2 separate regions of the Homo sapiens genome follow, and region 1 is linked to region 2. Evidence: promoter capture Hi-C in 16 types of primary human blood cells and fetal thymus (Javierre and others, 2016). All regions are on one chromosome and are shown on one strand. The core of a region is centred on a gene start or on the middle of the fragment in contact, and the rest is flanking DNA. Distances in the headings are between cores, read along the strand shown. Region 1 overlaps TNC (tenascin C). Region 2 holds the start of WHRN (whirlin).

The links. The method cuts DNA at HindIII sites, captures the fragments that hold promoters and counts their contacts. A CHiCAGO score of 5 or more calls a contact.
Region 1: a contact is called between a fragment that was not itself captured here and the fragment with the promoter of WHRN in region 2, in 2 of 17 cell types (monocytes and activated CD4 T cells). The highest score is 5.9, in monocytes.

The regions. Positions count from the first base shown.
Region 1 is chr9:115,030,773-115,034,756 of GRCh38, forward strand. TNC (tenascin C) reads right to left here. Exons shown (of 28, transcript NM_002160.4): 23 at 781-913. Among named protein-coding and RNA genes, the nearest start is that of TNC, 85 kb to the right of the region's middle. The HindIII fragment of the contact is 1,485 bases long and covers 1,772-3,256 here.
Region 2 is chr9:114,503,664-114,507,881 of GRCh38, forward strand. WHRN (whirlin) reads right to left here and starts at 1,810. Exons shown (of 12, transcript NM_015404.4): 1 at 521-1,810. The coding sequence starts at 1,138. RefSeq lists enhancers at 299-1,189, 1,190-2,080 and a silencer at 1,605-1,904. The HindIII fragment of the contact is 12,008 bases long and covers 1-4,218 here.

The DNA.
Region 1 (3,984 bases), core at 1,264-3,763, 530 kb after region 2:
TGACTGTCCCGTGAATTTTCAAAGGCAGGGCTCTCCAAAGGCCAGCTCCTCTGGTCCTCAGGAATGGATGCCACTCTTACTTATCAATGGAACAACTTGCAGGTTTGCTATCTGCAGAAGATACTTTGTGACAGGTGCAGGGGGAGGCTCCCTGGGCATGGAATATCTGAGCCCAACTCTGACTGTAACTCACAAGATAGTCTTGAACAGGTCATTTAGTCTCTGAAAGTGTCTGCTTCCCCACTAGAACTTTGGGCATAGGGCTCACCATACCAGCTTGGTGGGAAGATCATTTGTGATTTTGAATGTGGACAGGTTTTGTAAACACTGGCATGATGAAGGAGAAAGAAAGAGACTTTCAGCTCATGTTGAACTCTGACAATAAAAGGACCACACAATTATATGGGCCACATACTGGGCTAGGAGTTCAAATGCAATACCTCATGAACACTTGCAAGGTCCTGGTGACAGAGGATTTATTATTAATCTCCCTGTATAGACGAAGAAGCTAAAGATTATAGGATGGAAGTAGCATTCTTAAGGCACACCTAGCAGGTGATAGAAATGGGGACTGAATCCAGATGGGCTTCCTCCTTTCCTTTCACCGGGATGCTCATAATCTCCCACATTTGCTTTCCTCAGGCTTCCAAGTAGTAGCAGTGAATCGATTCTTTTCAGAGGTTTGTTTGAAAATTTTAAAGTAGAAGTCAAAGGGGAAGTCAAGGGTTGATTCAGTCAAAGTTAGATCTCAAGGCTGGATGGCACCCTGGGCCTCCTTACTTGTGGTGAAGATGGTCTGGATCATATTGCTCCTCAGGGGCCCATTGAGTGCCTGGATCTTGGCTGTGTAGTGGGTGGATGGGCTCAGGTCTGCCAGGCTGTAGGAGGTGGTATCTGGACCCACAATGACTTCCTAAGAGCAGAAGAAAAAGTATAATGGCTTTTGGTCACAGAAATTCTCAGGGTATAGATAAGAAGTCATTCTATTTATAAGTTCATTTACCCATCCATTCACTTACTTACTGGACAAGAATTCATTGAGTACCCACTCTCTACCAGGCTCCATGTGCACTGCTGAGATATCAGAGATGGGGAGAGTACAGCACAAGCAAAGGTCCTTGGGCCAGAAGGTGCAGAGCAAGTTAAAATAATATAAGGAGGGAGAGACCGCATCTGGTAAGGATGAGAGCACTGCTGTAGACTCCAGGGCTAAGGCTACCACCTGCCCAAGGCCCTGCCAAACTATATTGGGAGAATGGGATTGTAATGGTTAATTTTATGTGTTAAATTGGCTGAGCCATGGGGCCCAGATATTTGGTCAAATATTATTCTATGTTTCTGTGAAGGGGGTTTTTTTTTGGATGAGATTAATATTTAAATCAGTAAACTTTGAATAAAGCAGATTTAAAACATAAAATGAAATAATATAAGGAGGCAATAAGCGACCTCAACCATACTTAGCTTCAGGTGTTAGAACAGTGGAAAATGTTACTAGATTATGAAGGGCCTTTAAATGACAAGCTTTGAAACTTAAAGTTTATCATTAAACGGAGTGAGGAGCCCTGTAAGGTATAAATGCTAAGCTTTGGAACTTGAAGTTTATCATCACAAGAAATGGGGAGCCTTGAAAGATGTTTGGACATGCCAATGACATAAACCAAGCTGTGCTTTAAGAAGCTTAATCTGGTAGCAAGATGAATCACACAGGGTAAGGGACTTTGAGGTCAGTTAGGTCAGTGGTCCCTAAATATAGCTCTTTATCACTCTCAGAAGCTTTAAAACAATATGATGCCTGGGCCTCATCTCAGACTGATGGAATCATCAGAGCCAGAAGTTGGGCCTGGCTATATTTAAGAAACTTCCCAAGTGATTTGAATGTGCAGTCAGTTTGGGGATCTCTTGAGTTAGGAGATGATTATAATAGCCCCATAGGCATGGTAGGATTAAAACTTAAGCTGACCTCACATGTCTCTCTTCTAGAACAGAGATATCCATGACAGACAGATGTTGACCAACTCTAACTACACTTGTAGTCTGTGGCTGGTCTCTGTGCTGCTGTACAGAGGAGGTCATTGGTTTCAGTTTGCAGGAAATCCTCTTTCCACACCCTCTTGCTAGCTTCCAATTCTTTTCAGCAAATGACCTTAGTGTCTGGGATTGGAATTCAACCTACACTCCTAGTAAACCAAGCACAACGATCTTCTCTACAACCTGCAAACAGCCAGCTTAGTTTGGGCAGTCATGCATCAGTGCAGAAGCCCCTGGAAGGTTCTCCTGCATCCTGGGAACTGGGAAGGTACCTTATCCTGTTTTCTTCAATGGGAGAATTGAGTTTCAGAGAAGCTAAAAGACTTGCTCTCATTCCATAAATTGTTGGAGGCAGAGGATGATCTTGCATGCGGGTTTCCCAACACCCTGTCCAGGACTCTTTTCTCCTATACCAGGTTGATTTTTTTTCTAAGACATGTAAAGCTGGTGAATGGACATGCAGAAAAGTAAACTGGGATGAGTGCTCATTTAATACCCAGAGGCCTTTTTGCAGCCCCCCAGTTCTAGTCCCTGGGGGAAAGATCAACTGTCAGGGATAAAGCTGGGTTCATTGAATTACTTAGGAATACAATTACCTGTCAGTTCTCTAGGCTTCTGTGCAAAGCCATTTTCTAGGCAATTAGGGTACTCTAGATCAAAATGAGACTCATGATTCAGGTAAACACAGAATCCTAGAATGCCTGACAAGGAGAAGACCTTAAAGATGGATAAGTCCAAGGCATTCATTTTACAGATGGGAACACTGACACCCAGAGAAGATAAAGGATTTGCTTCAGCTCACACAGTGAGATAGTTCATTGTTATATCAATTCCAGGAAGGGGCATGATAGTTATTAGCAATGTGTCCAGTTCTGGTTAAATATGACAGATTGGATACAGCCACTCATCTCTACTTGCTTCTAAAACCCACTAAAAAGAGAGCAAGAGAATGTAAGGTATAAATCCATGAAGATGAGGGGAATGGGAGAGGAGACAGCAACAGGTGTGCCAGAAACTTGGTAGATAGAAAGTGAGTGGTAGAGAGACCATGGAGGGGAATGAATGAAGAAGGCTGAGGTTAACTAAGGAGCATGGGCAGAGCTAGTCAGAGGCTGCTTGGTGCAAGTCACAGAGTCCAGCAAGTTCAGTAAAGGAATGTGTACAAAAGCAGAGATGTCTTTAAAGGCCAATGTGGAGTGTGGTTGAACAAAGGTTTGGTTTGTTTAGAAGCTTTTTTGTAAGAAACAGACTCTAAGATCTCCTCATTCCCTCCAACAGTCTAAATGACTGCCCTTTCCCATTCAGATGGTAGGCTGAGGTTTACTCTCTGGAAAGGTTGAGCCAGAGAGGAAGTCCGGATTCAAATCCACCAGGCTCAGCCTTCAAGGAGGCCGAGGTGCTACACTGGAAACATAATAAGATGAAAGTTTGTACACAGTGAGAGGCCAGGTTTTATGGCACTGTTATTTGGGGGTCCCCCAAGAAAACTGTGGGTACTTGCCCAATCATTCTGCAGGGAGCCACAAAGTTGACAAGCCCTGCCTGAGCTAACTCCCTATTAGCTCTTTCATTCCTAGTTCAAATACAAAAAGACAGACCATGATCAACAGACATTGGGTGGATGTCTCCAACATGAAAGACAGAAACCCAAACCAAACCAAACTCAACAACAGCAGCAAAACAAAGAAACTTGTAACAAACACTGTGCAGGATATAGAATAAAATACCAGCAACATATTCTTAGAGATAAAGAGATGATGATATAGGAAGCACAAACAAAATGCCAGAAAAAGATCAATGTGTGGAGAACAAGCAAAAGATCTTGGAAATATAAAGTGAGATAACCAAAATGAAAAATTCAATAACAAGTTTGGAAGGTAAAGTTTAGGAAATCTCCTTCGCTTGTTTGAAGATCTAAAGTTATTTCAAATTAAAAGGTAAAAGAAAGAAAATTCT
Region 2 (4,218 bases), core at 560-3,059:
CTGAGAGGGCAAGTGACTTGCTTCAGGATACACAACCTGGTCCAAAAACAGCAGCGTCAAGCCAGTGCACTGTGGATCACACAAACGGCCTCCTCAGGCCACTTAAGAGCTAACAAAACTGTTTCAGGGAAAAACAAAAAACAAAAAACCACAGAATGGCAGTAGCAAAGGCCACCTAATTATGCCAAGCAGAGATTTTATCTCTTTTAATGCTCATAAGAATCCACAGCCCTATTCACACATTGTAACCACACATTTGCTCAAGTATTTGTTACTATCACCTGCACTAGCTTTTAAGCCTCACAAAGGCAAGGGCCATGTCTGTGCAGAACTACGTTCCCAGTGCCTGAGAGCTATTTGCTCTGTAAGCTATACATTCCTGTTTTAAAGTATTAAAAAAAAAAAAAAAGCCCAGAAAGGCCAAGTGATTCATCTAAGGACACACAGCATGGAGTTACTGAAAAAGCTGTGCCACTCTGTCCATACTCTGCCCCAGACTCTCTCCAAACCACAGCCTTACCTTGACGGCCTCCGCGTGGGTCACCCGGGCCAGGGATTTGTCGTTGACGCGCAGAATCTGGTCCCCGACCCGCAGTCCTTCCTTCTCAGCTAGAGAGCCTGGTTCCACCAGAGACACGTAGATGCCCACGCCGTGCTCCGAGCCCCCACGGATGCTGAAGCCCAAGCCCTCGTGGGCCTTGGCACGCCGCAAACTCACCAGGCGCACCTCCCCTGGCCCCGCGCTGTCGGGGCCGCCCCAGGCGGGCTGCCTGTAGGGGGTGGTGGCGGGCAGGTAGAGGCCCTCGGCCGTGTATTGGTCGAAGAGCAGCTGGTCGGAGCGCGGGATGACCAGACGAAGCATGGGCAGCAGGCGCCGCTTGACCGGACTGTCCAGCAGCACGCGCAGGGTGCGCACCAGGTCGAAGACGTTGCGGCGCGCGTGGTAAGCGTTCAGGCAGTGGGTGAACTGCTCCCGCTCCGCCTCGCTCAGCAGCGCGGTCAGCGCTTGGTGCAGCTGGCGCACGTTGGCAGACAGTAACCGCAGCCCCGCGCCCCCGCCGCCGCCCGCCCCGGCCGCCGAGCCCAGCGAGCCGGTGGAGGACGAGCTCACCGACAGGCCGTCCAGCGGCGCGTTCATCTCCACGCCGAGGCCCGGCCGGGCTCTGAGCGCGCGGGGTGTGGGCGGTGCCGCTGTCCTCGCGGGTACTGGCGCGACAGCTGGATCCCCGGGAGCGCGGAGACGACGGCTGGAGCCTGGGTTTGGGGAGCACGGGTACAGTGGCTGGATCCTAGGGGGTCGCGGAGACCGCTGCTAGAGTCCCGGAGGCGCGAAGACGGCGGGGGTCGCGAACCTGGAATCCGGGGGACGCGGAGACGTCGGCGGGTTCCTGAGAGACACAAGAGTTGGCTGCTGGAGCCCGGAGGTGGCGGAGACTGCTGCTGGAGTCCGGGGGGCGCGGGGTCAGCAGCTACATTCTGGAGGGCACGGAGACGACGGGTGGCTGGAGTTTGGGGGCGCCGCAAAGCTGACCTGACTGCCCCGTCACACCATGCCCGGGGCTCCCCCAGCCGGGCGCCCGTTCCTCTAGGGCTGGGGGACCCCAAAGTCAGAAGTTGGGGCGGAGGGCGCTCTAGTCCCAGAGCACTCCGGGGAGTGGCAGCCGGTGAAGCGGCGCGGGCGTCCGACAAGGGGTGCGGGGCATGTCCGGGGCAGCCCCGGGATGCAGCCGCCCGGGGAGCCTCCGCGCCTCTGCGCCGCCCGGCCGCAAGCCCGGACTTTGCGAACTGTTGAGCCACCCGGGCCGAGTCTTCCAGCGAGTTCCGACGCCGTCTCGTTGCCAGCCCGGCCCGGGCCCCGCCCCCTCGTCCCTCCTCCTGCCCGCCCCCTCCCCACGGGCTCCTCAGGAAATGACGTCCCGCCCGGTGCGCCTGGCCGTTGCCTGGAGACGGGGTGAAACAGTCCAGCCCCAGGGAAGAAAGGGGTGAACGCGGCGGTAGGGGTGGGAGGAGCCCCCGCGTCCCCTACCCCGCCGGCAGAGCCGGGAGCGGGGCTCAGAAACAGCGCTCTTCGGCGGTCGCAGCGAGTGCCGACACCAGGATCGCTTTGGAGTAATTAGCCGGCTAGCTAATTCACAATTCGGGGGGAAATCGTCAAGTTTTTTGTTTGTTTGATTTTTGCTTCCAAAATACTGGGCACTTCAGTCTCGGTTTTCTTCCTTACAATGTGGCGCTCCCCTCCTGCACGCGCCCTGACATGACAAATTCCAGGGTTTATGTGGACGGTCGTTGGCCACCTACTGTGTGCGAGAGACGAATACAAGCATAGACTGCTGTCTGCCGGAGTCAACTCCGTGGCAGGGATGGATCAGGCTGGACCCCTTCCCAGTCTCCATTGCAAGGGAAAAGCCACTTTCAGAAATATTATATAAAGTGTACACCCCACGCTCGCGCACACACGTACAAATGAGCGCATATAAAACTGGTGAAATCTGAGTAAGGTGGGTGGATTTTATCAATGTCAATGTCCTGGTTGCCATCGTGTCAACATCGGGGGAAACTGGGTGAAGGGTACATGGCATGTCTATGTATTATTTCTTAGAACTGCATTTGGATCTACAATCTCAAAATAGAAATTAAAAATATACATATTTGAAGTGGCTTGGAGAAAAATCTCTTCTATGCTCTCCCATCCCTAGGCAAAATGGGAAGATACACCCAGGTGTGCCCTGGAGTCGGTCGTCACCCACCCAATCCCCCAAATAAGATTTAAGTAAAATCCTGTGCTTTTATTCTAATGGGGAGCTTCATAGTGCTACACACACACACACACACATACACACACACACCCTACCTCACACACATCCCTTCCAACCTGAGCTGCCTCTCCTAAGCTACTCTTCTATGTATTTTTCGTAAAAGTCTTCCAGAATTTCCATTGCAGAGCCAGCTGACATCTATCCAGGGTAGGGCAAGATGGAGGATTACCTGGAGGATTTGGTTTGTGGTGGACCCAGAAGGATAGATCATTCATTTATTTATTTATTTATTTATTTATTTATTTATTTATTTATTTGGTCGCTTTTCATTCAACGTTTTTGAAGCATCTGCTCTGTGCTGGGTCATGTGCTGGGTGCTGGAGACCCAGGGGAGAAAGATCAAATAAATAGAGTTAAAAACCAGTGTGATACCTGTTGTAATGGCGAGGGAGCCCAGGTTTAGGAGAGGAGAATATGGTAAGGACTTTACTGAAGAGGCGACACCTGAATGAAGAACCTGTAAGGAAAACGGACTTTCTCCTCTAGACAATGGGGAAGAGTGGAAAGGTTTTCAACACTGCTGACTTAATGCATTGAGGCTAGGAATGGAAGCTGTGTTTTCCCTAAAGATCTTCAATTCTTTACTTCCCTAAAACAGACATAGGTTAAATTAATGCCCAATAAACATATTTAACAGTGTGTCTGAGGAAGATTTTTTAAAAAATAGCCAATTAGGCTACCTTTGGCCATCTGTCTTAAAGCTCTAATCTTAGCAGTTAATGGTGTCTATCCTTATTCCTCCTTTGTAACTGTTGTTGAAGCCTTTCATGCAACTAGACCAAGATGTTTAAGGAAAAAAAATCAATCTTCTCCACCCCAAAAATGTATTAATGACATACCTCAAAATGCCACCAAGCAGGGCTTAATTGTATGCAGTTCAGGTTTCCTGCTAATGTGTTTCATGCTCAGCTCTCACTTAGTTTGTTTTAATTATAATTACTGTGATTGGTTTGATAAATGCATCCCAGGAGCTAAGATCCCCAGTCCCAACATTTTATTTCTGTGCAAAGGATGTTTTCAAGAAGGTGTTTTGCTTTAGGCAGCAGAAACCAGGCTGCATGCAGTCTTAGTAGAAAAAGAAACACTTTCTTCTGCAAACATCAGAGACCGTCTGAAATGCTGTGCTGTTGTTTAATTTCATAGAGGACGGTTTGGGAGGGCAGATGATAGAAAAAGAAATCGTTGGAGTTTCTTCCATCCATCTTACATAACCACCTTAGTATCAGTTTGCACTGTGTCCCCTCAGGCAAGAGGCAGTGTGTAACTGTGCTCAAACCTCCAGAATCCTATTTCATGTATGAAGATGTTTGTCATTCAGAAATAAGCTCTTGGAAATAAATGCTTCAGCTTCTGAGGGCTGCACTGCAAGACCTGGGAGAAAAACCTGAGTACACAACTTGCC